Regions from separate parts of the Homo sapiens genome. Here all the other regions are linked to region 6. The links are contacts of gene promoters, found by promoter capture Hi-C in blood cells and fetal thymus (Javierre and others, 2016). All regions are on one chromosome and are shown on one strand. The core of a region is centred on a gene start or on the middle of the fragment in contact, and the rest is flanking DNA. Distances in the headings are between cores, read along the strand shown.

Region 1 (3,784 bases), core at 52-2,551, 140 kb after region 6:
GTGTTTCACCACCTTCTTTTTGGTTTCCCATAACCCTTCTGTATTAATTTCCTGTAGCTGCCTTAACAAAGTACCACAAACTGGGTAGTTAAAACAATATAAACGTATTGTTTCACAGTTCTGGAAGCTGAAAGTTTGAAATCAAGGTGTCAGCAGGGCCATGCACCCTCTGAAACCTGTAGGGGAATCCTTCCTCACCTCTTCCTAGATTTTGGTGGTTTGCTGGAAACTCTGATGGTCTTTGGCTTGGCTCGCACCTGTATCACTCCAGTCTCCGCCTGCACTGTCTCATGGTTTTCTCTCCCTGCGTGTCTTTGTCTTCACTTGGCTGTCATATAGAATGCCAGTCATATTGCATTAGGGGCCCACCATACTCCAGTATGAACTCATTTAAGGTAACTACATCTGCAGTGACCCTATTTCCAAATAAGATCACATTCTAAGGTACTGAGAGTTAATGTGTCCCTTGGGGGACACATTTCAATCCATAACACCTGTCCACAGCTTTGTAAAAGTCCCTTTCATTAAACTCTCTCTAATCACTCCGAGAGTGCCCTGTCTCCTGCTTGGACCCTGCCTGAAACAGGTATGGGGCATGGGTGGGGAAATAACATTCTATGTAACAAATGAGGACATGTATTAAAAAAGCCTTGAGGCAGAAAGAAGTATAGAGGGTTTAAAGCTGTATTAATATCAAAAGAGTAGTTAGCAGGGCTCAAATAAGCCTGTCTTTCTAGAAAATTATTGTTGAACTATCTCAAATTATTCAGGAAGTCATTTTGAAAAGTCCCAAGAATGTGTATTATGTTTATGACTGTGATTTATATCTTCCACCGGTTAGAGGGAATTTTAAGAATTTATTGCTAATGGCCAAAAACAACCTTCCTCTAGGCCTGACTAAGAGAGAAAGCTGGTATGAACAATAAATCAAAGCCAGAGGTAGAAGACAGTACAGGAGAGGACAGGTGATGATGCGGCGGGAGCTTGGGGCAGAGTGTGGCTAGTGCTTCACCAGGTCAGGAGCAGTCAGCTTGGCCTGGGCCTGTGGCAGGACAAGATGGAACTTCAACAAAAACACAGCCTGTCTCAGGGTGCCCAGGTGGAAGGCAGAAACATCCACCAGGGCTCTGCCCTCAGACCCAACCCTCCTCCGGCCCTGTGTAGGCTGTGTTCTTTGTGCTCAGTCATTCCTTCGTGTCAAGGCCAGCAATTAGGCCACAGCTTCCTTGGTCCTGCCAAGGGGATGTCTGTCCCTTCATGTGATTTCTAGAAAAAACTAATTTTTTTATACTCCGTAAAATGGGAGAAGATAACTCATAGGATTTCTGTGAGAAATAAATGAAATTATACTTGTAAACACTTGGCTCATTGCTTAACGATGTTAATTTTCTCTTTGTCATACAAATAATGATACCTGAGACTTGAACAGTTAGTAGGAGAGGCAAGAGTGTTTTTGGGGGCTTTATCCATTCTCCCCCATAATCTCCATCTCTCCAGAATGGAAGGTTTCCCATTCTTTGATGTCTTTCCCAATCTTATGTGCTATGAAAATACAGCCTCAAGGCAAGTTCCTGAGGCATCTTCCAACCAGGTTGCTGTCCTTAGCCTTTCCTCTGCAGAAACTCAGAAGCTGCTATTGCATATTGTGTTGTATGATTTGTAAATGCTGCCTCACGCGTGTGATTTAGTCTGTTCTTATCTCTGGTGTAATCTCCCAAAAGCACCCGTTGAACCCATACTGGTCTTCAAAAATTCTTATTGAAGTGAAATAATTTCTTCTGCCCACAGGATGTCTGATCTGAAAGCATGTTGTGGTCCGCTACACACAAGAGCAAAAGAAGAGCAGGAAGGAGCTCAGTGCCAAGACCATAGCCACAGGAAGAAAACCAGCTCTTAGGGCTGCAGCTCTAAAGACAGGCCAGGTCATTACAGGAACGTCTGCTCCCTTAGCCTTGCCAGACAGAGGAGGGTTAAGAAAGGAACTGCTGACCCTGATATGCAAACTGCCACGAGTGCTTCCTGCCTTTCTATCAGCATCAGATGGCTAGCGATGGATGGCTGTAAGATTGATGTAATTAACATTTTATTTTCAGGGCCACAGTGCTGGTTGGGTGCACCAGACAAATCAACCAACAGATTAAAGAGTGATGGAGAAAGCTGTGTTTTGGGCCTCATTTGGGAACAGAATGGAAGAGCTGAGGGTGGAAGGGACCTCAGCAAGTCTTCTGATCCATGTTTCAACCTTCATTTCCCCGATAACCTCAAGGAGAGAGTTGCTTTTCCTGTTCTTCAAATGAGTTCCTTGAATTCACACTCTATTTCTTTGAATTTGCACAGACTGTTGAGGAACAGGCGGCAGGGTCACTCTACCTCTGCTCAGACAAGCCTGGAAAAGAAAAATTTTACATAGAAGACTGAGCTGGAAGAGGCCTGGGAACTTGGGAATTCCCACTTCCACACTGCCCACTCTAGTTCTCAAGAGGCGGCAGCTATGCTGCAGTACAGACCACTGAATTTAGATTCAGGAATCTGGGTTTATATCTCACTCCTCCTCTTACTTGCAAGTCACTTACCACACCAGGCCTCGGTTTCCTGGACAATAAAATGGGGATAACGTTGCCCCATGTGGTTGTTGGTGGTCATGAAATTATGCACACGAGCACGCCTTGTAATCTAGGTTAGACCTGCACTAACCTAGATTAGCTGACCAGGGTGGAAGGTGGGAGGGGCAGGCTTCAGTGTGTGACTTACCTAGAGGCCAAGGGGAGTCACCATGGATAGGGCAGCACTTGTAAGTCCTCTGCTCTCTCAATGTGGCTCTGAGAATCTCCAGGAAGAACTGGCTGGTTGAATTCTCAACTCTACCAAGAAAGGTGTGCTGGAGACCAGGGTCATAGACGTCTCCTTGTTGATGTACGAAAATCAGGAAGCCGTCTCGGGTCCTCTTTACCAGGACATAGTGTAATTATTCATCTTCTTCCCTGTCAGTTGGCACTGGAAAATTTTGCTTCTTCTAAAAGGAACAAATATCTCTAGCTCTTGTTGCTCCAACAAGGTGTCTGGCTTGATTCCTAAAGTAAATAAATAAATAAACAAATAGATTGATAGAGAATAAATACATCAAGGTAAAAGGAAGACAGAGAAATTAAAAAGCCACATCAGAGTATCAAGGACTGGGGTACCAGCTTGGGGACCACCCTCCTTTTCAGTATTCCCACAAACTCTCCCTGGGACAACTTCATCAGAGGAGTCATTCATTCATTCATTCGTTCGTTCATGCATCTATTTGGCAAGCATCCTCTGGCTTGTATGGTGTTCTCAGTGCTGGGCTGGCTCTGTGGGGAGGACAGTGATTTGTTCTCCCAGGGGTTTGCCAGACCCAGGGAACTACAGGGCCTGTGGTTCTGAGGCTCCAGGGCTGCTCTCAGCTGAGCTGTAGGAGGACACGAGGGCAGATCTCCCCCAAAGCTTCCCTGGAGGACTGAAGCATTCTGCTTCTGGGACAGTCTGTTGGCCCTTTCTTCCACATCTCAACTTTCAGTGTCTCAGCGACTGGCCTATGTACTCTTGGGCTTGCTTGAGGACCTTGAGGAAATGAGTCTAAATCAGCAAATGCCCTTTCCTCAGGGAACAGCCTCGTTAGTTGTGCATGCAGCCTGGGCCCTTTCTCTTTTTGTTGCACATGGCAGCGTCTTCCACCTACAATGAGGCCAAGAGCTTGGCAGGGGTGATGTTGATATTTAGCTTCAGACTGCTGTTAATGCTTCTTTCCCTCATATTTGTG
Region 2 (4,109 bases), core at 1,474-3,973, 160 kb after region 6:
GAGAGCCAACAGGATGAAGGCATTCCCTGGGTGAGTGTTTAATGTTTGTATCTTTAAGCGCCTCTGCCTACTTGTCTCCTTAGTGGATTCCTCCAGGAGTTTTCTCCCTGCGGTCTCAGACCTTCTTGGCTTACCCATTTCAACTTGAGACTTGGGAATAAAAATTTTTATTTTAATTTAGTTGACCCATGCTCAACTCAGAAATTCCACATTACCACAGGTATTTGTCTCTAAGCTCTCTCTCAGCAACTGGCATGAAGGAAGCCTGTGCATTTCCCCTTCCTGCTCACCCCTACGGATCCCCAGGACTCTTCGGCAGCTAAGGGAAGATATAAAACACTCAATACCTGAAATAGTTGTGGAAACATTTCAGAAAATGACTCTATTCATCCTTCTTCACAGAGTAAGAATTAAAGCTATCTCTAAAAGCTTTGGAAATTTTGATTAGGATGGTAATGGAAAACCATCCTTGCTTTATCTGACTTATGCACATGAACACTTTCACAATAAAGACTGCAATGAGCTACAGCACTCATGATAGTAAAAGTTCTGTTTATCTCAGCCTGCCTCCACAATGAGAGGGCCTATTCAGTATTAAAAGCTGTTATTTTCAACCTTTCTTCAGGAGCCTGTGAGAGACAGGTGCAGCACCCCACCCCCCACCCCCAACATCTCTCCACAAAAATCCTAACAGCCTTTCCTGCCCTCTTCAACTGATAAAGAAGGCCCCTCTAAGCCAACTGCAAAGATAAGCCCCTTGCCCCCACTTCAACTCCTGGCCTCTTTTATCAGATGTTACTGTTGGAATGATCGGGCAGCCTCATCTCAGGTGTGGTGCACATTTTAGATGTAGGAAAGTGTTGTGTTCAACACTTTAGCCACATAAAATACTTGCAGGTTCAAAGATGTGTCATAGACTTCCAGATGCTCAGTTTTTACACTGGCTTCTCCTTCTTCCTGGAAAAGCCATACCATCCTTCTTCTCCCTTCTTTAACTCCACCTGAGGGAGGCGTTCCCCTGGCCCCCTGCCATGTTGGGCCATGACACTTATCACCTCTATTCTCTGATAATCTGTTTGTTTCCTGCATTGAACTTTAAGAGTACTTAGAACATAAACAGTACCTTATTTATATTTGCATTCCTAATGTCCAGTGCAGAGCTGGTCAATATTAGGAACTCACAGATATTTGCTAGTCCAGGCAGGATTTCTAGACGCCCCAACTCTCAAGGAACCAAGAGGGTTGGTTGCTTATCTAGTGAAGACTGAGATTAGGAAAGAATTTGCCAGCAACTCAGGATAAAACATGGGAAATCCAGGTCTTTTATCCACTGTTTTAGGTGCAGGGAGAAGTGGGGCACTCTGCAGCAGGTGGTACCTCCCACTTGGATAGAACCTGCTAGGTACCTAGAGCAAGGTGCCTCCCACTTGGATAGAACCTGCTTGTAATAGCTTGTGGCTCACTGCCTAGGTGGTATCAGTGCCCATATTACCTACATGTAAATGGAGCACTGACTTTGCAGGTCTACTAGCCCATGGTTTTGAATCTTGCTTTGTGACTTACCAGTAGCGGGACAAATTACAACTCTGAGTCTTGATTTCCTTATTTGCAAATGGGGTAATTATAGTTACCTTGCAGGGATGCTGTGAGGTTGAAATGAGAGAACACTTGTGAAGGGCTTATTCCTGTGCCAGGTACTCATTTGTAAGCCCTCCACAGATATTGGCTTCTTTGCCTTGTCTTTTCTTCTTTGCCATGGTGGGGTTAGTGACCTGGTCATAGCCCCCTGCCTGAGCCATAGTTACCAGGAGAGACACAGAACTTGTTATTTCAAGGCTGGCACAGAACATTCCTCTGAGGGAAACAGCAGTCTGTTGAGCCATGTTAGGCTGCCGTAGGACTTGGGTAGATAAATGAATGAGCTGAGTGGAGCCGTGTCAGAGACATATGGGCAGTATCAATCTACTGTGCCCTTTGGCAAAGGACTGTCTCTGGCAGCTTAGGATGGAAGACACATAAAAGTTAGACCCCAGTCTTCTTTGTCTATACAGGATAAAGAAAGGATGGGAGGACTTTAAGAAGAGAAAAGATGCCAAGGTCAAATCAAATTAACCCCATATCGGCTACTATGCGTGCCCAGTTTAATGCCATTCTCTGATGGTCTCTGCCACTCTGGGGTCTTTGATATAAAATATTTACCCATAGTATTACTTCAATATAAATGGGAGTCAGTGCCAGAACTTCTGATTTTCTCACTCATTGGAAGTTTTAGAACTATTTTTCCTTTGATTTGAGAATACATTCATTCTTTCCCTATCCTCTTTGAGTTTTATGGGTGAAAAAAAGATAAATTTGGCAAAGAAAAGCCCTTTCCTTGCTTTATCTCTTATTCGTAACCCTCAAACTCCTCACCTAAAGCCTTAGTAATGGCAAAGTCTTTCCCTGATGGGTGCCCAGGATTCACCTCTACCTAGGCAGAGTGCTTATCAGCTGTTTCTCCTGTTCCTAATTGCTTTCTTTGCTTTATGGTTTCTCTGCTGTGTCTCCAGCTGGTTGGACAAGCAACTGAAGAACAGGAACAGAAGTGAATGAAAAGAGAAGATGCTGTGTTTGTGTTTTCTCTTGGTTAGAATGCTGTGAGTCAGGACCTTAGCTGCTGGGTGTCCTGGGACTGCCTTCGGTAAGTAAACGATTCTTCTTCTCAGTCTAGCTGATTTGGGCTCAGAATGCTCAGATGGCTGGAATTAACTTTGTTTCTCTGATTTGTTCTACTGAAATGTCTGGGCCTCACTGGATGTTTTAAAACAACATAAGATATTTTTGGAAATTAGTGAGGAATTTCAATGGGTGTCAGGAAAAATCACAGTGTCATTTGTCTCTAAAAAAATTTTGGCTGCCAATAGTCCATCTGTGACTCACTTTCCCAGCTGTGTGCCACCAAAGGAAGCAGCTGCTGAGCAAAACAGCATAGAAGCAAGTGGGGCCTTTCTCGAGTTGTAATTCTGCTTCTGTTACTGACTTGGGAACTTGGGATGTAAATAAACAAACTTTTTCATATCTAGTCTCAGCTCAGGATTTAATTCCTTTAGCATGTCTTCTTGGCTCCCATCACCTAACTCATCCTGAAATTGAAATATTCTAATTTCAATCTGTACTTTCCTCCTGGAACACCCCCATAATTATTACAACCAAGTATTTCTCTTGTTTCCACAAGCATCTGATTTGGGTCCTCTATTAGACTGTAAGCCCTGCTACGGTATGAGTTACACAGTGGAAGAAGGCTTGGATCTTGGCATGGGATACAGCACATAGCAAACACTAATATATACATGATTGAATACAAAAATGCCACTTCTGTACCCTGAGATTTATGGATACTTGATGAACACTTGTTAGCTAGTTAAACCTTCTTGCTCACTTTTTCTTCTATGACTGTCCTCCAAGGCTTGCATGGGGAGATTGGAGGGCTCCCAGTTCGATTATGAGATGGTTGGGGCAGAGACTCTCAAATATTCCATCGACTCCACCATAATTTTTGCTTTGCTTCTTATGGATCATTACCACAAAACCTGCCCCTGGGCAGTGCTCACCAATCAATGCATGGTTCTGTAATGACTTTGTTCTTCTACCCCTAAACTTTTCTTTACCTTCAGTAGAAGCTGGTTTTGAAAAAGAAGAAAGACAATTTCTCCCACTGGGACTTTTAGCATGGAGTAATGAATGACAGAATCAGAGATGTGAATGACAGATAGAGCTGCATTTCCCTATTGCATGTGACGTGGCATTAGTCTTTGAATGTTGGCTCTCGGAGGAATTACTAAGTAGTTCCTTACTGGCAGAGTATACAGCAGGGTTACCAGAGTTGTAAGTGTCCTGTAGGAAACCTGAGTGCCCCATGTTAACATTCAGCAGTTCTGGCTCTGAGGTGCCCTGGGGAAGGGCAAGCTCAGGAGGAATAGGGACTCAGTCACTCACCAAATATCCCCGAGTCTCTGCCTGTCCCATGAGGGTTAAGACTTTGAAATCTGACCCCAAAACCAAATTTTACAAAGGATCCTTCCCCAACTCTTTATTCCAAGAAGAATTTCCCATTTTGTGTTATCCCATGT
Region 3 (4,087 bases), core at 723-3,222, 170 kb before region 6:
CACAAACACTGTGGAAGGCCGCAGGGACCGCTGCCTAGGAAAGCCAGGTATTGTCCAAGGTTTCTCCCCATGTGATAGTCTGAAATATGGCCTCATGGGAAGGGAAAGACCTGATCGTCCCCCAGCCCGACACCCATAAAGGGTCTGTGCTGAGGAGGATTAGTATAAGAGGAAGGCATGCCTCTTGCAGTTGAGACAAGAGGAAGGCATCTGTCTCCTGCTGGTCCCTGGGCAATGGAATGTCTCGGTATAAAACCCGATTGTACGTTCCATCTACTGAGATAGGGAAAAGCCGCCTTAGGGCTGGAGGTGGGACATGCGGGCAGCAATACTGCTTTGTAAAGCATTGAGATATTTATATGTATGCATATCTAAAAGCACAGCACTTGATTCTTTACCTTGTCTATGATGCAAAGACCTTTGTTCACGTGTTTGTCTGCTGACCCTCTCCCCACTATTGTCTTGTGACTGTGACACATCCCCCTCTCGGAGAAACACCCACTAATGATCAATAAATACTAAGGGAACTCAGAGGCTGGCGGGATCCTCCATATGCTGAACGCTGGTTCCCTGGGTCCCCTTATTTCTTTCTCTATACTTTGTCTCTGTGTCTTTTTCTTTTCCAAGTCTCTCGTTCCACCTAACGAGAAACACCCACAGGTGTGGAGGGGCAACCCACCCCTTCAAGCAATGATCCTCCTCATCTTCATAATGCTATTTTTGGCTTTAAAGTCTATTTTACCTAATATTAATAAACGTATGCCGATTTTTTTAGTTAACGTTTTTCTAGTATATATTTTTTCATCCTTTTACCTCCTATAAATAGCTTATAGTTTAGTTTTGAGTTAAAAATTTCATTCTAGGGCCAGGAGGCGTGGTGGCTCACACCTGTTATCCCAGCACAAAGGATTCAAGGCTTACCACATTGACAAGATAAAAAATTAAGCAGGGCAATGGGAAAAAGTAAAAATAAAAGGAAGCTGAGAATGAGGTTATATTAAAGGCGCATGCCATGAGGCTATATACTCTTGCAACCATAGGATCCAAAACTGACAAGCTTCCTAGCAGCCAGCACAGAGAGAAATGTGATCTTGTAATGATTCACAGCACCCATAACATAAAAACAAATCTTTGTCATTTAGGAAAAGACATTACAATTAAATAAAGTTAAAATTTCATTTCCTCAGTTGCACTAGCCACACTTGAGGTACCCAACAGTCACATGTGACTAGGGGCTACCACATTGGATCATGCAGACATAGAACATTTCCATCCTCACAGAAATTTCTATTAGTACAGAAATGGGTGGAGGAAAAGGTGCCAGTAAATGCTTCCTCTTTGTGTTGTCCAGAGTGCTGAATTTCTGGGTGGCCAGGGGGACCTTGCTCTGCTATGGGTTGAAGATTCAGCCTGACCGCTTCTTGTCAAAGTTGGCTCTGGGCCTAGCAAGGCAATCTACTCTGTTCAAAAGTGGATAGAGGGAGAAGCTGGGAGGAACATTACAATTTTTTCTATGAGCCCTCTGTAGAGGGTGGATGATGGGGGTTCCACAGGCTGCTCCTTGGTTTCACAGCCCGTGCCCAGGGGTGCTGGCTTCAAGCCCTTCAGACAAGCAAGATCAGCTCTGCCCCTCCTGCTTCACTTGCCCTGTAGCTGTGGAAGCTACCACTAGGGAGGTCCTGCCTGGGGCCCTGCAGGTGTGGAGCTCAGGTAGGAGCCCTATTCTGGTAACCTCTCAGTAAGGTAACCTCTTACCTTACTGGCCACCCTCCTGGACAATCCTGACTCCTATCCCCTGTTCCCCTGCAGAGCCAGCTGAGCCCCCAGGAACCCCTCCTGCCTCTCACAGCCATCTAGATGCAGCTTCTCTGCCCACAATTGTCCCCTCTAAAGGTAGCACCCAAAGTTAGGGAAAGATTAGGCGGCAACTGGGCTTAGAGACCACCTGCTGTCACTGATTGTCCCCACTGCTGGCTAATTTTTAAAAATTGTTTTAGAGACAGGTTCCTGCTATGTTGCTCAGGCTGGTCTCAAACTCCTGGCCCTAAGTGATCCTCATTCCTCATCCTCTTTTTTTTTTTTTTTTTTGAGAGGGAGTATCGCTCTGTCACCCACGCTAGAGTGCAGTAACACAATCTCGGCTCACTGCAACCTCTGCCTCCCAGGTTCAAGCAATTCTCCTGCCTCAGCCTCCCAAGTAGCTGGGATTACAGGTATATGCCACCACACCTGGCTAATTTTTTAATATTTTTGATAGAGACGGGGTTTCACCATGTTGGCCAGGATGGTCTCAATTTCTTGACCTCACAATCCACCTGCCTCGGCCTCCCAAAGTGCTGGGATTACAGGCGTGAGCCACCATGCTCAGCCTTCCTCATCCTCTTGAGTAGCTGGAATTACAGGTGTGAGCCACTGCACTTAGCTCCTAAACTGACATAGTTTGGATATGTCCCTGCCCAAATCTCATGTTCAATTGTAGTCTCCAGTGTTGGAGGTGGGGCCTGATAGGAGGTGATTGGATCATGGGGGCAGTTTCTCACGGTTTAACACCATCTCCCTTGGTGCTGTCATCACAATAGTGAGTTCTCATGAGATCTGATTGTTTGAAAGTGTGTGGCACCTCCCCCTGCCCTCGGTCCTGCTCCTGCCATGCAAGATGCCTGCTCCTCCTTTGCCTTCCACCATGAATCAAAGCTCCCTGAGGCCTTCCTAGAAGCAGATGCTGCCATGCTTCCTGTACAGCTTGTGGAACTGTGAGCCAATTAAACCTATTTTCTTTATAAATTACCCAGTCTCTGGAATTTCTTTATAGCAGTATGAGAATGGACTAACAAATAAACATTTTAATTTTCTAACTATTTTTTGCTGATATATAAAACAAAGCTTTTTTTTGTGGACTGAACTTGTATCAATTGAAATTATTAATTCCAAGAGCATATCAGTGGTGATAATAATAGCATTATTTCTTCCATTCTCAATACTTAGTCCTTTAATTTCTTTTTCTTGCTATAATGCATTGGATAGCAACTGTAGTACAGTAGAAGTGGGTGATAGCATGGTGATTTATTCCTGATCTCAGAAGGTAATCTTTCAACATTTTACGACAAAGTATGATGTTTGCTATAGGTTTCTATAGTTGCTCTTTAATAGATTACAAATATTTCTTTAACTTAAGAGTGTGATAAAGAGTTATTTCTTTTTTTTATTTTTATTTTTAGAGATGGGGTCTTGCTCTATTTCCCAGGCTGGAGAGAAGTGGCTATTCACAGGCTAGATCTTAGTGAAATACAGCCTTGGACTCCTGGACTCAAGTGATCATGCTGCCTCAGCCTCCCTAGTAGCTAGGACTACAGGTGCAAACCACTGCACCAGCAAAGAACTATTTTTTTTTTTTTGAGATGGAGTCTCACTCTCTCACCAGGCTGGACTGCAGTGGCACAGTCTTGGCTCACTGCAACCTCCAACTCCCAGGTTCAAGCAATTCTCCTGCCTCAGCCTCCCGAGTAGCTGGGACTACAGGTGCATGTCACCATGCCCAGCTAATTTTTGTATTTGTAGTAGAGACAGGGTTTCACCATGTTGGCCAGGATGGTCTCGATCTCCTGACCTCATGATCCACCTGCCTCAGCCTCCCATAGTGCTGGGATTACAGGCGTGAGCCACCATGCCTGCAAGATGCATTATTTTTTTTGTGTATCATTTCATTCAGTATGCTGATATTTAGGATTTTTGTAGCTATGTTTGTGAGAAAGATTCGTTTGTAATTTTTCTTTACTGTCATGTCCTTTTCAGTTTTGATATCAAGGTTTTGTTAGCCTCTTAAAATGATTTGGAAAGTGGTTTTTACTTTTTTCAGGTCTACATTCTCCCAGTTTCAAGTTCAGAGAGAGAGAGAGCCTCTCTCCCATCAGTTCTCATAAGTGTCTCTGAATTGACTCATTTCGTCTCATTGGCCTGATTAGATGGTTGTGAGGCCATCCCTAAGCCAATAACCATGGTCGTGCTCTGATTCATTGAGAATGAAGTCAGTGCCACCTGGGCTACATAGACTGAGAATGGAAAGGGGCTTTCTTGAGAAAAATCAGGA
Region 4 (3,686 bases), core at 1,111-3,610, 240 kb before region 6:
ACCCTGGAGGAAGAGGTTGCAGTGAGCCGAGACAGCTCCACTGCACTCCATCTTGGGTGACAGAGCAAGATTCTGTCTCAAAAAAAAAAAAAAAAAAAAAAAAGAAAGAAAAAAATAAAAAGAAAAAGAAACCACAGGAACAGATGAGATGACCTTGGGACAAGATGTAGAAAGGGAGGACAAAGGGGCTTAGAAGCATTCTGAGGAATACCCACATTTGAGGGATAGGTATTTTGTGAAAAGATGGAGAAGGAGCATCTAGAGAGATAGGTGGAAACCTGGAAGATGGTGAGTGGAAGGGAGTGAATTGAGAAGGAATGAATGACTACCTGTGTCCAATCTGCTAAGAGGTCAAGCTAGGTAAAGATTGAGTATAGTTGATTGGATTTATTGATATGAAGGTCACTGGTGGCTTTTCATGTGGGCTTTCTCCTAAGGCAATGAAATTTCAGGGCAGTGAGGGTGAAATCAGGTTTCAGAAATATCATTTATTCACCCAGCAAAATGTATTAAGTGTTACTGTGTGTCTAGTTCAGGACTATGCCCATGGGTACAAGGATAACTGTTATCCACTCTCTGCCCTCACACAGCTCTCGTGGGTGGGAGAGACATATGTACACTGTTCTAATGCAGTGTAGTTAATTGGGGAGGTGAGAGCACAGAGCAAGGGCAGCATACCAGAGGTGGCAGGTTTACACTCAAAAATAGCCTTTCTGGAGGAGCTATTAAGTTTAAAATAAGGAATAAAATGTCATTTGGAATTGGCAACTCAGAGGGTCAAAGGAAAACTTTTGCAGGGTGAAAGAGGAAGGAGTTGCAACATCTCAGACTGCATTGTAGAGACCCAGGAACGGGAAGGAATGTAGACATGCTCTTCAGATGAATGATTCTGAAAGCATGGAGGGTGATTGTTAGAGGAAAGGACCAAGGTTGAGGGACGATTTTATGAAAAAGAGTTAAGCCTGCCTTAGGTTGGTTGAGGTATGTTTCTGGAAAAGTTGGATGAAATATCTCTACCCTACAATGATGCCTTCTCCATGGCTGTAATGATTGGGTGCCCTGAGTCAGACTTCTTTTTCTTGAACAGTGTAGGGGATACCCTTATCCCTTTGGAAGGCACTGGTGCATGGTGGTGAACAGCGTGGAATCAGGCAGGATTCAATCAATGCTAGGTCAAATTTATTAGCCTCAGTTTCCTCTTGTTCTCCTTCTCCTTCTCCTTTTCCTCCTTCTCCTTCTTCTTCTTCTTTTTTTTTGACAGAGTTTCACTCTTGTTGCCCAGTCTGGAGTGCAGTGGCGTAATCTCAGTTTACTGCAACCTCCGCCTCCTGGGTTCAAGCGATTCTCCTGCCTCAGCCTCCCGAGTAGCTGGGATTACAGGTGCCCACCACTATGCCCGGCTAATTTTTTGTATTTTTAGTAGAGATGGGGTTTCACCATGTTGGCCAGGCTAGTCTGAAACTCCTGACCTCAGGTGATCTACCTTCCTCGGCCTCTCAAATTGCTGGGATTACAGGCATGAGCCACCGTGCCCAGCCCTCAGTTCTCTCTTCTATAAAATGGGGTCCCTACCTCATAGAAATGTGATCTATATTTGTACCATATTTTCATCTTTTTCTATTCAAATCATGACAGTTTCCAAAGAGCAAACACAGAGTCTCTGCTCCTGCCAGTTGTTTGCAGTCTTTTGGCAGGCATAGTCTACCTTTAGAGCTGTTGAACTACAGCCCTAGATAGTCTGGTATTACTAATAGACCTTGAAATCATTTACTGGTTATTGCTTAAGTAGGTTTTTTTATACGGGTGGTTGACTTCATTCATTGCTGATTTCATTGTCAGGGTAATAACGTTTTGCCCTCTCTGTCAGGAATATTGCTTCCCCTCCCCCACCCCAGCAGCAGCCTCCATGCACTCAGTCCAGATAACAGTGATCCTGGTGCTTGCCTGCACCCCATTCACTCCTCCAGTGACGTGTGGGTAGATAGGTTGCCTCTCAGTGACTTTCATAGCAACTGATTCTTGTAATTGTCAATGTCCACTTTTGAGTGAAGGCTGGAGACTGGATCTTAATCTCAGAGCCTGCACAGGGCCTGGAACACAGTGGGTACTCAATATAAGCTTAATGAATGAATGAATGAGTGAGTGAGTGAAGGAATTCTGAGTTTTGAAGGAGCCTCACTGTCCTGTCTAGGGTAGTAGAAATGGTTGCTTTTCCCAAACAGAGAGGTGTGCAGATGGCACCTCCTGAAGCTGCTTATTCTGACTTCTTGGAGAAATTCGTGGACTGCCCCAGTGCTCTGAAGTTCTAGGCATCTCCATTACCACAGGGGGAGATAATCCCACTCCCCGTCTCACATTCTTGCATACAGTTAGGGAGGTATGTGGTGTGGTGGAATGGATGTAGGCTTTGGAGCTAGTCACTGCCTGACCTCAGTTTTCTCAAGTGTAAAATAAAGATAATAAAACTTACTCTCTGTCAGATTAAATTAGAAGATAGGTGTAAGTACATAGTGACCTGGCACACAGTTGTCAGTTAAAAATAGTATCTATTACTGCAAGTTATATTCATATCATATGCATCTTATTGATTTCTAAAAGCTTTACCTTCCGCATGCTGTCTTTGGATGACTTAAAAGCAGTTTACATTTTACTTCACAATAGCTCAGGGATCAGAAAGGAGGGCTGAGCCTTTTCTTTCTGTTTTGCAAGAGAGGTGGAACTTTCCTCTCAGCAAGAGGATAGGTGTCCAGAAGTCCAGCTCCACCCGACTGTCCTTTCCTCAGAGCCAAGGTGTTTTGGCCCACTGTTCACAGGTGGACATGACTGTTCTTGCCTTACCTACACTTGCCCACACTGAGACCTAGTTGTTTTGCCATTCAGGACACTACCAGGACATTTTTACCATCTATGCCTTCAGTATGTCCCCTGTACCAGTGAGTCAGCAGTACCTGGCAGTTCAGGGCTCTTTGTTTACAGAGTACTGTTCTTCAGGGATCAGGCAAAGATTCTTCGTGTCATACACATGTGGCCACAGTGAATTGCATGTAGTGGGTTCTTCAATAAATGTTGGCTGGATGAATGAACAGAAGATATGATTCCAGGTTCAACTTGGCTGAGAAGGGTATTTCGTGCTTTTGCCTTTCAGGGTGCTGGTGGGGGCTGAGGGTTGCTGTGGGAAGGGGGCAGACAGCTTACCCTGAGTCTGCCAGAGCCGCTGTGGGCTGTGAAGGACTTTGGATCTCTGTGTGTCTGAGAGCTTTGGCCAGGTGTCCTCGTGCAGCTTCTCCTGGTACCAGAATGACTGATCTCATGTACTTGTGGCTAATGAGGTGGAACAGTCAGATGCTGGGCCCCCCAACGGACTTTTGCCCTTTGAACCTTCTACTTGGAAGCTAGTTGCCTTTTTCAGAGGGCTTTTCCCAAGAGCCATCTGAGGGTGGAGGTGAAGAAACTTACCTTTTCTGGCCCATATTCACCTCAAGAAATAGGCTTTCATCAGAGCCTTGGGTTCTAGTGTGGGTTTGTTGTGAACTTTGGAACAAACTCTTGACCAGCAGTGAAGGGGTAGACCTTTATGCTGCTTTGATCATCAAGTCCCTTTGGGGGCTCATCCTTGCTCTCTTCCTTTCTATGTTCTATGTTTCTATGTTCCTTTCTTTTTCTCTCTGCCTCAGAAGAAGCTGGGC
Region 5 (4,041 bases), core at 603-3,102, 230 kb after region 6:
GCCTCCTGGGAATGCAGCCCAGTAGGCCTCAGCCTCATTTTACCCAGCCCCTATTCAAGATGGAGTTGCTCTGGTTCAAATGCCTCTGACATGTTCATATAAAAATATTACTTTGCTACAAAGATGATTGGGATTGGACGTTAAGATAACCAGTCTACTAACACCTTTCTATAAGATCAGAGAGAAATTTCAAGTGATTGCCTTCTGAGAAGCTGTATGGGGCATTGGTTAAGAGCATGAGCTATGGAGTTGGATGGTTTGGATTCAAATTTTGGGAGTGTGCCATAGGGCGAAGTATTTAACCTCCTTGTGCCTCAGCTTCTACAAACCTGGCTAATAACCAGAGTTCTTATGAGAATTAAATTAGTTAATATATGTAGAACACTCAGAACAGAAACCAGTTAGTAGTAAGAACTAGACAATTACTAATTATTATTATTGTTAGGTGTTGCCAGCCTGTGTGTTAGAAATATTTTAACGTGATGATCTCATATATGTGTATGTTCTAAGCAACATGTGTAATCATTGAAACGTAGGCATTTAATTACCTTGTGACTTGCCTACTTTATTACCAGTAGACTTGCCTACTTTTAACTTTTAAAAAACTTTCTTGATATACTTGATTCACTGTTAAGGCATTATATGAACAAAACTTCTTTTATTCATATAGAGTTGCTCAATACAAAATGTAGCTACCCAGAGTTAGCCAAACTGCAAGGTTAAGGTCATAGACCTCCAGACTAAATCTACATAAGACTTCTGCCCCCAACTGTAAGTCGCTAGGACTCAACTACAAAGGGGAGATAAGTTCATGCAAGACCACTCTCACTACTGGCACCAATGGCAAGGTTGGGTATTTCCTAAATCAGGTTCCATAATTCACTAGAAAGACTCATAGAACTCATTGAAACCTAGTATACTTGTGATTCGTTTATTACAGAGAAAGGATACATTAAAAGCAGCCAAGGGATGAGATGCATAGGGCAGAGTCTGGTAGGGTTCCAAACGTGAAACTTCCACTGTCCTCAGGGATGAGTTACCCTCCCAGCATCAAGGCGTGACAATACCCATGGAATATTGCCAGTCTGGAAAACTCAGCTGAGCTTTGGTGTCCAGAGTTTTTATTGGGGCTTCATTATATCAGATGACTGATAGCCTGTGTGGTTGAACTCACTCTCTAGGTTGTGACACAAACCCTCCACCCTATGTTATATGGTTGGTCTTTCTGGCATGGCCAGCCCCCATCCTGAGACCATTGATTGTGGCCAGCCTCACAATGAGTCATCTTGATAGCAGAAACTATTAAGTGCGGTCCAAGGACCCCACCATCAATTATAAAGACATGCCAACAATTCAGGAAATTCCGAGCCTTCAGAGGTTATCTCCCAGGAACTGGGACAAAGACCAGACCTGACTTTGGGTAAGGCTAAATTTCTTGCTACACGTTAGTAGAAGAATCAGCAAATTCCAGTGTCAGGAATCTAAGTGTTCCCATTGTTCTACAGTGCCTGGTTCACTCTGATCTGTCACCTCAGCCTGGAACCTCAAGTTTGGAGGTGATTGGTCTAATGCTGCTGCTGTGCCCACTGTGTATACAGGCATCCTCTGCAGTTTTCCATGTTGATACCTGCTTTTATGTGAATTCTGTTTTTAAAGTCTTCATTTTTTATCTCCAGTCATATTGGACTACAGCCTCAGTTCCAAAAGCACTGCTTCATATGTTTTCAATCCTCTCCAGTCAGTGTTTGAATTAATGGGATTGTCACTAGGAACATCTACACTTGAGGGACAGCCCAACACAAAGTAAGATACATGTCTGATGGCTCAGATTCATTCACTCATCACTATTTGTCATACTCCTTTGTGCCAGGCACTATTCTGAACACAGAGCATTTAGTGGAACTTAGAGGTTAATAGGAAGGACAGATATTATACAAATAATCACACAGAAATACATAGAAATTACAGGGTTCTTTAAAACAGTAACACGAGGGGAACAAATTTAGGTTGAGGGGCAGAGAAGTGTTCATTGAGGAAGAGACATTTCATCAAGATTTAAAGAAGGATAAATATTAGCCAAGTGACTGGAAACCGTGATTTGATTTGAACTGGTAAGAACAACATGATGTGGGCTCTGAGTTTAGTCTGCACTGCTTCCCCACTCCCATGAAATGAGGAAAATATTTCTTAACTAAACTAGAAATTCAATGGCCCTTTTAATCCAAGGTCCTTACTAGCTCTGAAGGTTAGAAAGAAACCTAGTGAAGTAATGAAGAAACATTCCAAGAGACAATTTTGGAGAGTTTTCGGTATATCTCATGCCTGCGTCTGCAGCAACTGGAGACTCTTTTCTATCTTTTAGGATTTCCAAGCAAAGGAACCAGAAATCACTATAAACATGAAGTCATCCTCATTGGAATGAGCCAAGTGTACTGCAGTGAAAAAGTGAACCAGGTCTGATACTCAGCTTAAAGGATGCTGGAATGAAAGCTGTGGTGGGTCTCAGACTAAACACTGTGAGATATCTGTGTGCTAAGGGACAAGAAAGAAAGGAAATCGCTTTACCTAGTGTAAGCAGATCAGGATTTGGGGAGGCAGAAGGCTCATAGAATCATTGGGCAGACTGGAGAAAAAGATTCTAGGCTCGACTTCCAGGAGTGATGCCCAGAACCACCCATCCATCAGCCTCATAAGAAGGCTGCAGTCCTATCCCTATGCCAGCTGCCTCCAGTGCTGCCAGCAACAGAATATGCAGCCAAATGGGCCCAAACAGGAAGTTACTGCTCCTGGCCCAATCAAGAAGATGCTGTTGCTGCCTAACCCAGACCACATGGCCTCCACTGCCCCTAAACCAAGAAAAGGGATGCCCCTGCCTAACCTGTTCCTCATATGGCTCATCTCCCAATCAAATACTTGGCTGAATACAGATCTGCACCTTAGCTGCAAGGGAGCCTGGAAAATGTAGTTCGCAAGGCAATAGTCACAGCACTTGGAAGGATAAATGTAGAGATGGTGTTTGAATCCTTTCTGGAAGTGATTAATGACAACTGTTCACTAAAAAAGAATGCCTGGAGAGACACGACAGTAATTATAGGGATAACAGAAATATTCTTAAGAATTAGGAGTCCTCAGCCCTAGAAGATGAAAAATGCGATGAAATATGTGAAAGTATTTAAATGGTCACAAGAGAGAGTGAAATGAACTTTATAACAGTAGAAACTGAGGTTTGAAGTTGGTGAAAGTATAAAGACTTTATATCATACTAAGCCACATTCGTACAGGTGTCAGCATAGTTTGAATTTATCATACTTCGACATTATATGTAAATGAGTTCAGGAATGAGAAATAAAAACTAGTTTTTAAGGGCAATTTTATTACTGACAACAGAAAAAAAACCCTAGGTTTACCAAAAACTTTGGTCATGCCATATGGGTGATACTTATTCTTGTCTTTACTTTTTTTTTTGAGACGAAGTCTTGTTCTGTTGCTCAGGCTGGAGTGCAGTGACGTGATCTCCACTCACTGCAACTTCCGCCTCCCATGATCAAGTGATTCTCCTGCCTCAGCCTCTGGAATAGCTGCAATTACAGGCATGTGCCACCACACCCAACTACTTCTTTGTAGTTTTAGTAGAGACAGGGTTTCATCATGTTGGTCAAGCTGGTCTCAAACTTTTGACCTCAGGTAATCTGCCCACCTCTGCCTCCTAAAGGACCAGAATTACAGACGTGAGCCACCGCACCTGGTCTCTTGCCTTTACTCTTTATCTAAGCCAGACAGGCTATTCATATATTGTTTCCTCAATATGTGAAATGATTCTTTGTTTGAAAATGGACCACAGTGATAAGTGACTAGAGCCAGAGAAAATGAAATGTATGAAATATTAATTAAAGAATTAAGAAATATATGGCTAAGCAATAAACTCTTTTCTAAATTCTAGACATACTTGAAGAGGTCCTCTTTCCTTTAATCTTTTTGAATGGTTATTCCCTGCTGCCGCCACCCACCCTCGGGTAGATTCCACATGCGTGCGCAGATGAG
Region 6 (4,122 bases), core at 928-3,427:
AGAAGTCCCTTTTAAGGTTTACCTACTTTCCTCCCATCAAGGCTGGAAGCATGAAATGGAGACCAGGTGCTCCCCATTATGTAAACCATATTCCTTCATCTACCTAGACTCTCTTAGGTCCTGCCAGCCTTGTCTTCTTACACTTATATGATCTTCCTCTAATATTTTCCTTTTTTGTTGTTGTTGTTGCTAAATTTCATGTGGGTGGTTCGGGGAAAGGGTAGACTTGCACTCCTCCCCACTAATCAGTGGGATTTTAGGAAGGCTTTGAAAATGGGAAGGATCCTCCCCTCAGATCCTATCACCTTTGGAATGGGAACATGCCCACATTTCCAGAGCGAACAGACACTGGAGTCCTCTCTTCTCAAAGGTGGCGAACCGTCCTGGAGTGACGTGGGGTGTTCTGGCCTGCGAGGAGATGGCTGCCCGCAGAACCTGCCCGCTGGAGGGCGCTGCAGAGGTCTGGCTCCGTGCTTTCAGATGTGTTCGGCCAGGGGCTCCAGGGGCTCCTTCTGAAAGCAGAGAAGCCCCCAGAGGTTGAGAGGGGAGATAAGACGTGAGCCTTTTCAGCTGTGATGTGGTGAGGAGTCAGGGAGGCCGTGAGCACTGTGGGGCCAGAAGTGTTGGCTTCTGTCAGAAACTCGGCCCAGCCTGACCGCTGCCTCCTGGCCCTGTCATTTCCCCTCCATCACGCGCTTCCTTCTGGAAGCCGGAAGCAGGAGGTGGGAAGCTGCGGAGGTAGTGACAAAATCATGGTGTAACAAGAAGCTCCTAGGGCCGAAGTGACTGGAGAGGTGGCCACATACTATGAGAAACACCAGCGCACCGGCAGGGCCTGGGGAGTTCTGAGCTCTCCCGGGCTGTGTGAAGCCGCAGCCAGCCCACTTTTTTCTCAGTATGGCAGTGCCATCTGACCTGGCCCAGCCCATCTTGTTCGGGTCATGGTTCGTCTTCCTGGGCATTCTGATGCATTCCCACTTCATATTTGCACTGGGATTTCAGTTTACTAAGCATTCCACACCCATTACTGCTTTCAATCCCTTCAACAACACTGAGAATAGGTGGGCAGGTATTTTTATCTCTATGTGAATAATAACACATGGGGACTCAGAAAAATTAAAGGCCCCAGGAGAGAAGGCTAGTGAGGGGCAGTGACGCTTAGGGACAAACAACTGGTTCTCCTGCCTCCTGCCTGAGGACTCCTGCCTGAGGAGAATATAGTAACAAAAGCCTCTGTCTTGCAATTGCAGCCATTAACACATCTCTTTCATACCCACTACTCACTGGACTGTTAACTCCTTGAAGACAGAAACTCTGTGTGTGTGTGTGTGTGTGTGTGTGTGTGTATTTAATGGGAGCAGTACTTTCTTGAGGCATAATTACATGAAAATACACTAATGATGCATTTGATATATATATAGCCATCACCCAAGATAAAGATATGGAACATTTCCACCACCCCTGAAGGTTTCCTCGTGCCCCTTTTCAATCCATCCTTCTACCCCAGAGGCAAACAGTGCCCTAATTTCTATCACCTGTGATGCGTTTTGCCTGTTCTTGGACTTCATCTGTATGGAGTCATAGTTTGCACAGAGACTGAATCCCCAGAGCACGACACAGCCTGGCACATGGCAGGTATACAATGCCAAAGAAAGCCTGGTTCTTAAACTACCTGTGAGAGAGAGTTCGTCCCACCGGGAAACTGAGGCGGTGGGCGGTTAGTGACCTGCCAAAGGCACGAGTGTATGATGTGGTGGATCCCGGACTCCAGCCAGCCTAATTCCGAACCCAAGGCCTCCTCCGGGCCCCCAGCCCTCCCTGGGCACTTCCTCCAGGGCTCCGGGTGGAGCGGGTCTGACGATCCCGGACGAACAGCGCCCCCTGCTGCCGGCCCAGGCCCCAGGCCCTCCTCTCCTTTGGGGGGGGATGTGACAGGATGACACAGGCCTTGCGCCCAGCGCAGTGACGGGCACAGGGCAGGGACTTGTGGGATAAAAGTCACCTGCCCTTTTATTTTCCTCGGAAAAGAGCTTTTCCTAAACTTTGGGGGCTTTCTATCTCCAGAATTAACAGACAAAGGGAGAAGAGGTCTTTTTGGTGGAGCGCTGCTGCCCCCATGCGGGTGGATGGCGACACTACCGAAGAGCAGGCGATCAAGCCTGGTATTTTTGGGTTTCAGGTTCTGCGGCTCCCTGAGACCAGCAGATTCCTGGTCTCCGGGTCCCTGGGTCCCGGACGTGTCCATCAAGGCGTCCATTAGGGCCATCACCTAATGGACAAGCATCAGGGTAAGGGGGGAGGTGCTATTGGGGGGGGGTCCCTCAGAGAATCAGCCCTAGCTCTGTGTGGGGGCAAATACGGCCTCCCCACCTCCTTCCCTCCCAGGAGACACTGGCCTGAGCATAAGTCTCGAGGGTCTGCCCTGTACTAAGCAAGCGCTTAATCAGGTGAGATCAAGGTCTGATCTTGGCTGGTTTGGAGGGGCAGCAGAGGTGCGGTGAGGGAGGCGGCTCAGCGGTGGGGCCAGCAGCACCTCCCCAGCCTGCTTGCGGGCCCGGTGCAAGTCACCGAGGGGCCGGCAGCCCCTCCCAGCCTGGCATGTTGGCCTTGCTGCACCTGCGGTTGGGGGGTGGTGTAACGGCCCAGCCTGCTCCCCTCGGCACGTGGCCTGGGGCGATGCTATCTCTAACTCAGTATTTTAAACTCTTCTTTCCAGAGGATGTGGCTTCTGCGGGAGAGCTTCAAAGGGTGCCCTACTTGCCCCTCTTGGTAACCATGACGTCATGGAAATGGGAGGGGACCGCCCCAGCCCCCAAACACCTGGAGGGAAGTGGGAGACTTTTTCCACTTCCTGTTCTACTTGTGGCTACTGACTCAATGTCTGACCTGTTTATTAATTGCAAAATATAGCTCTATGTGTGCTACCCAGAGAGGCCTCAGGCCTGTGTGTCTCTGTGTGAAAGGAGGCCTGCACTCCCCACCCCTCGCCGCGTTGCCCAGGTGGCCTTGACACAGACGCAGGGCGCTGGTGGTCCTGCAGCCTTCCGGCAGCCAGAATGACAGCACTGGGTCTCCATGTGCTTGCTCCCCCAGACTCATCCCAGTCAGAAGCTCGTCTTCCCACACATGGCTCACGGAGGTAGATGGGTTTTAGAGTAGGACTCATGGAGAAACTGAGGCGAACCCACATAAAGTGACTGTTGGCTCTGGACCTCAGTGTGGTCACACAGTGAGGTCAGACTCCCAGGTACCCTGCGTGATTTACCACAGTCCCTGTCCTCCAGGCTTTGTTGGATAGATGTGTGCCTGCCTGGGGGCTGCCCTGAGCAAGGGGCCACCACTCAGGCTTTCCTTGTTCTGAAGTTCTTGACAAGTTACTTTAGCTCTTGGCAAAACTGTGAAGCATTGACTCACCTGACCACTTCCTCTACTAATCCCCACTTTCCTTTCTCCTGTACTCCCCACTCCTCACACTCAGCTCCCCCCACCCAGAGCCTAACTGCAGGAGTCATTCACTTATTCATTTAACGGCATCTGTTGTGTGCCAGGCACTGTTCTAGTTCCTGGGGACACATTGATGACAAGGGACATTCCCATCCCACAGAGCACACAGGCCAGGGGACTTCCACACTAGGATGGTACCTGATAATAAGGTGCTATAGGCCTGTCTGTATACGTGATCCCAGGGGAGTTGAATTTTATGTTTGGACCTAAAAAATAAGCAACTCCTTAAGACTCAGATGGCTGCCCCCAGTGAGGGTAGCAGCAGAGGGGTTGCTCTGTCAGAGCTGAAGACCTCACCAGGATGCTCCTGAAGCACGTGCTTGCATAGCCTGCCCTTTCTCCTGAGTGGCTGTGACTCCAGTTGCACTCAGAGGTCAAGTCTTCAAGTGAAGTTTCAGAGAGTCCTCTAGAATCTTAGGGCTGGGGCCACAAGAGCTCATTTAGTCCATTCTTCTGCCTTTGGGACTGGCCTGTGCTTAAGTCTTTTGGGAGAGTAGGGCATGTGTCCAGAGAAGTCCCTTCTACAACTGGCCTTAGTAACATGTTCCCTGCTGGGATGTCGGCCTGAGGTTGGGTCCAGGCTGGTAGAGCTGCAGCTGCAGCTGCAGCCCAAGGCCT

The links. Contacts are between HindIII fragments. The CHiCAGO score rates a contact against its expected background, and 5 or more counts as called.
Region 1: a contact is called between a fragment that was not itself captured here and the fragment with the promoter of LINC02332 in region 6, in 1 of 17 cell types (total B cells). The highest score is 6.0, in total B cells.
Region 2: a contact is called between a fragment that was not itself captured here and the fragment with the promoter of LINC02332 in region 6, in 3 of 17 cell types (total B cells, naive B cells and M0 macrophages). The highest score is 9.4, in total B cells.
Region 3: a contact is called between a fragment that was not itself captured here and the fragment with the promoter of LINC02332 in region 6, in 2 of 17 cell types (M0 macrophages and M1 macrophages). The highest score is 5.6, in M0 macrophages.
Region 4: a contact is called between a fragment that was not itself captured here and the fragment with the promoter of LINC02332 in region 6, in 1 of 17 cell types (erythroblasts). The highest score is 6.1, in erythroblasts.
Region 5: a contact is called between a fragment that was not itself captured here and the fragment with the promoter of LINC02332 in region 6, in 1 of 17 cell types (total B cells). The highest score is 6.0, in total B cells.

Annotation. Positions count from the first base shown.
Region 1 is chr14:22,416,940-22,420,723 of GRCh38, reverse strand. All of the region lies in intron 2 of TRD-AS1 (TRD antisense RNA 1), which reads left to right. It also overlaps TRA. Among named protein-coding and RNA genes, the nearest start is that of TRD-AS1, 64 kb to the left of the region's middle. The HindIII fragment of the contact is 4,339 bases long and covers 1-3,470 here.
Region 2 is chr14:22,399,615-22,403,723 of GRCh38, reverse strand. All of the region lies in intron 2 of TRD-AS1 (TRD antisense RNA 1), which reads left to right. It also overlaps TRA. Among named protein-coding and RNA genes, the nearest start is that of TRD-AS1, 81 kb to the left of the region's middle. The HindIII fragment of the contact is 4,583 bases long and covers 432-4,109 here.
Region 3 is chr14:22,721,284-22,725,370 of GRCh38, reverse strand. All of the region lies in intron 1 of OXA1L-DT (OXA1L divergent transcript), which reads left to right. It also overlaps the pseudogene LOC100421646. Among named protein-coding and RNA genes, the nearest start is that of OXA1L-DT, 43 kb to the left of the region's middle. The HindIII fragment of the contact is 1,826 bases long and covers 1,060-2,885 here.
Region 4 is chr14:22,795,866-22,799,551 of GRCh38, reverse strand. The region is part of intron 2 of SLC7A7 (solute carrier family 7 member 7); the gene reads left to right. Among named protein-coding and RNA genes, the nearest start is that of SLC7A7, 18 kb to the left of the region's middle. RefSeq lists an enhancer at 2,969-3,038. The HindIII fragment of the contact is 480 bases long and covers 2,121-2,600 here.
Region 5 is chr14:22,326,815-22,330,855 of GRCh38, reverse strand. It overlaps TRA. Among named protein-coding and RNA genes, the nearest start is that of TRD-AS1, 150 kb to the left of the region's middle. The HindIII fragment of the contact is 6,538 bases long and covers 1-4,041 here.
Region 6 is chr14:22,555,117-22,559,238 of GRCh38, reverse strand. LINC02332 (long intergenic non-protein coding RNA 2332) reads left to right here and starts at 2,177. Exons shown (of 3, transcript NR_146543.1): 1 at 2,177-2,288; 2 at 2,386-2,447; 3 at 2,717-2,928. LOC105370399 (a long non-coding RNA gene) reads right to left here and starts at 2,673. Exons shown (of 2, transcript XR_007064066.1): 1 at 1,673-2,673; 2 at 1-512. RefSeq lists enhancers at 1,572-1,781, 2,642-2,981, 3,032-3,131, 3,712-3,841 and a silencer at 2,482-2,531. The HindIII fragment of the contact is 9,123 bases long and covers 1-4,122 here.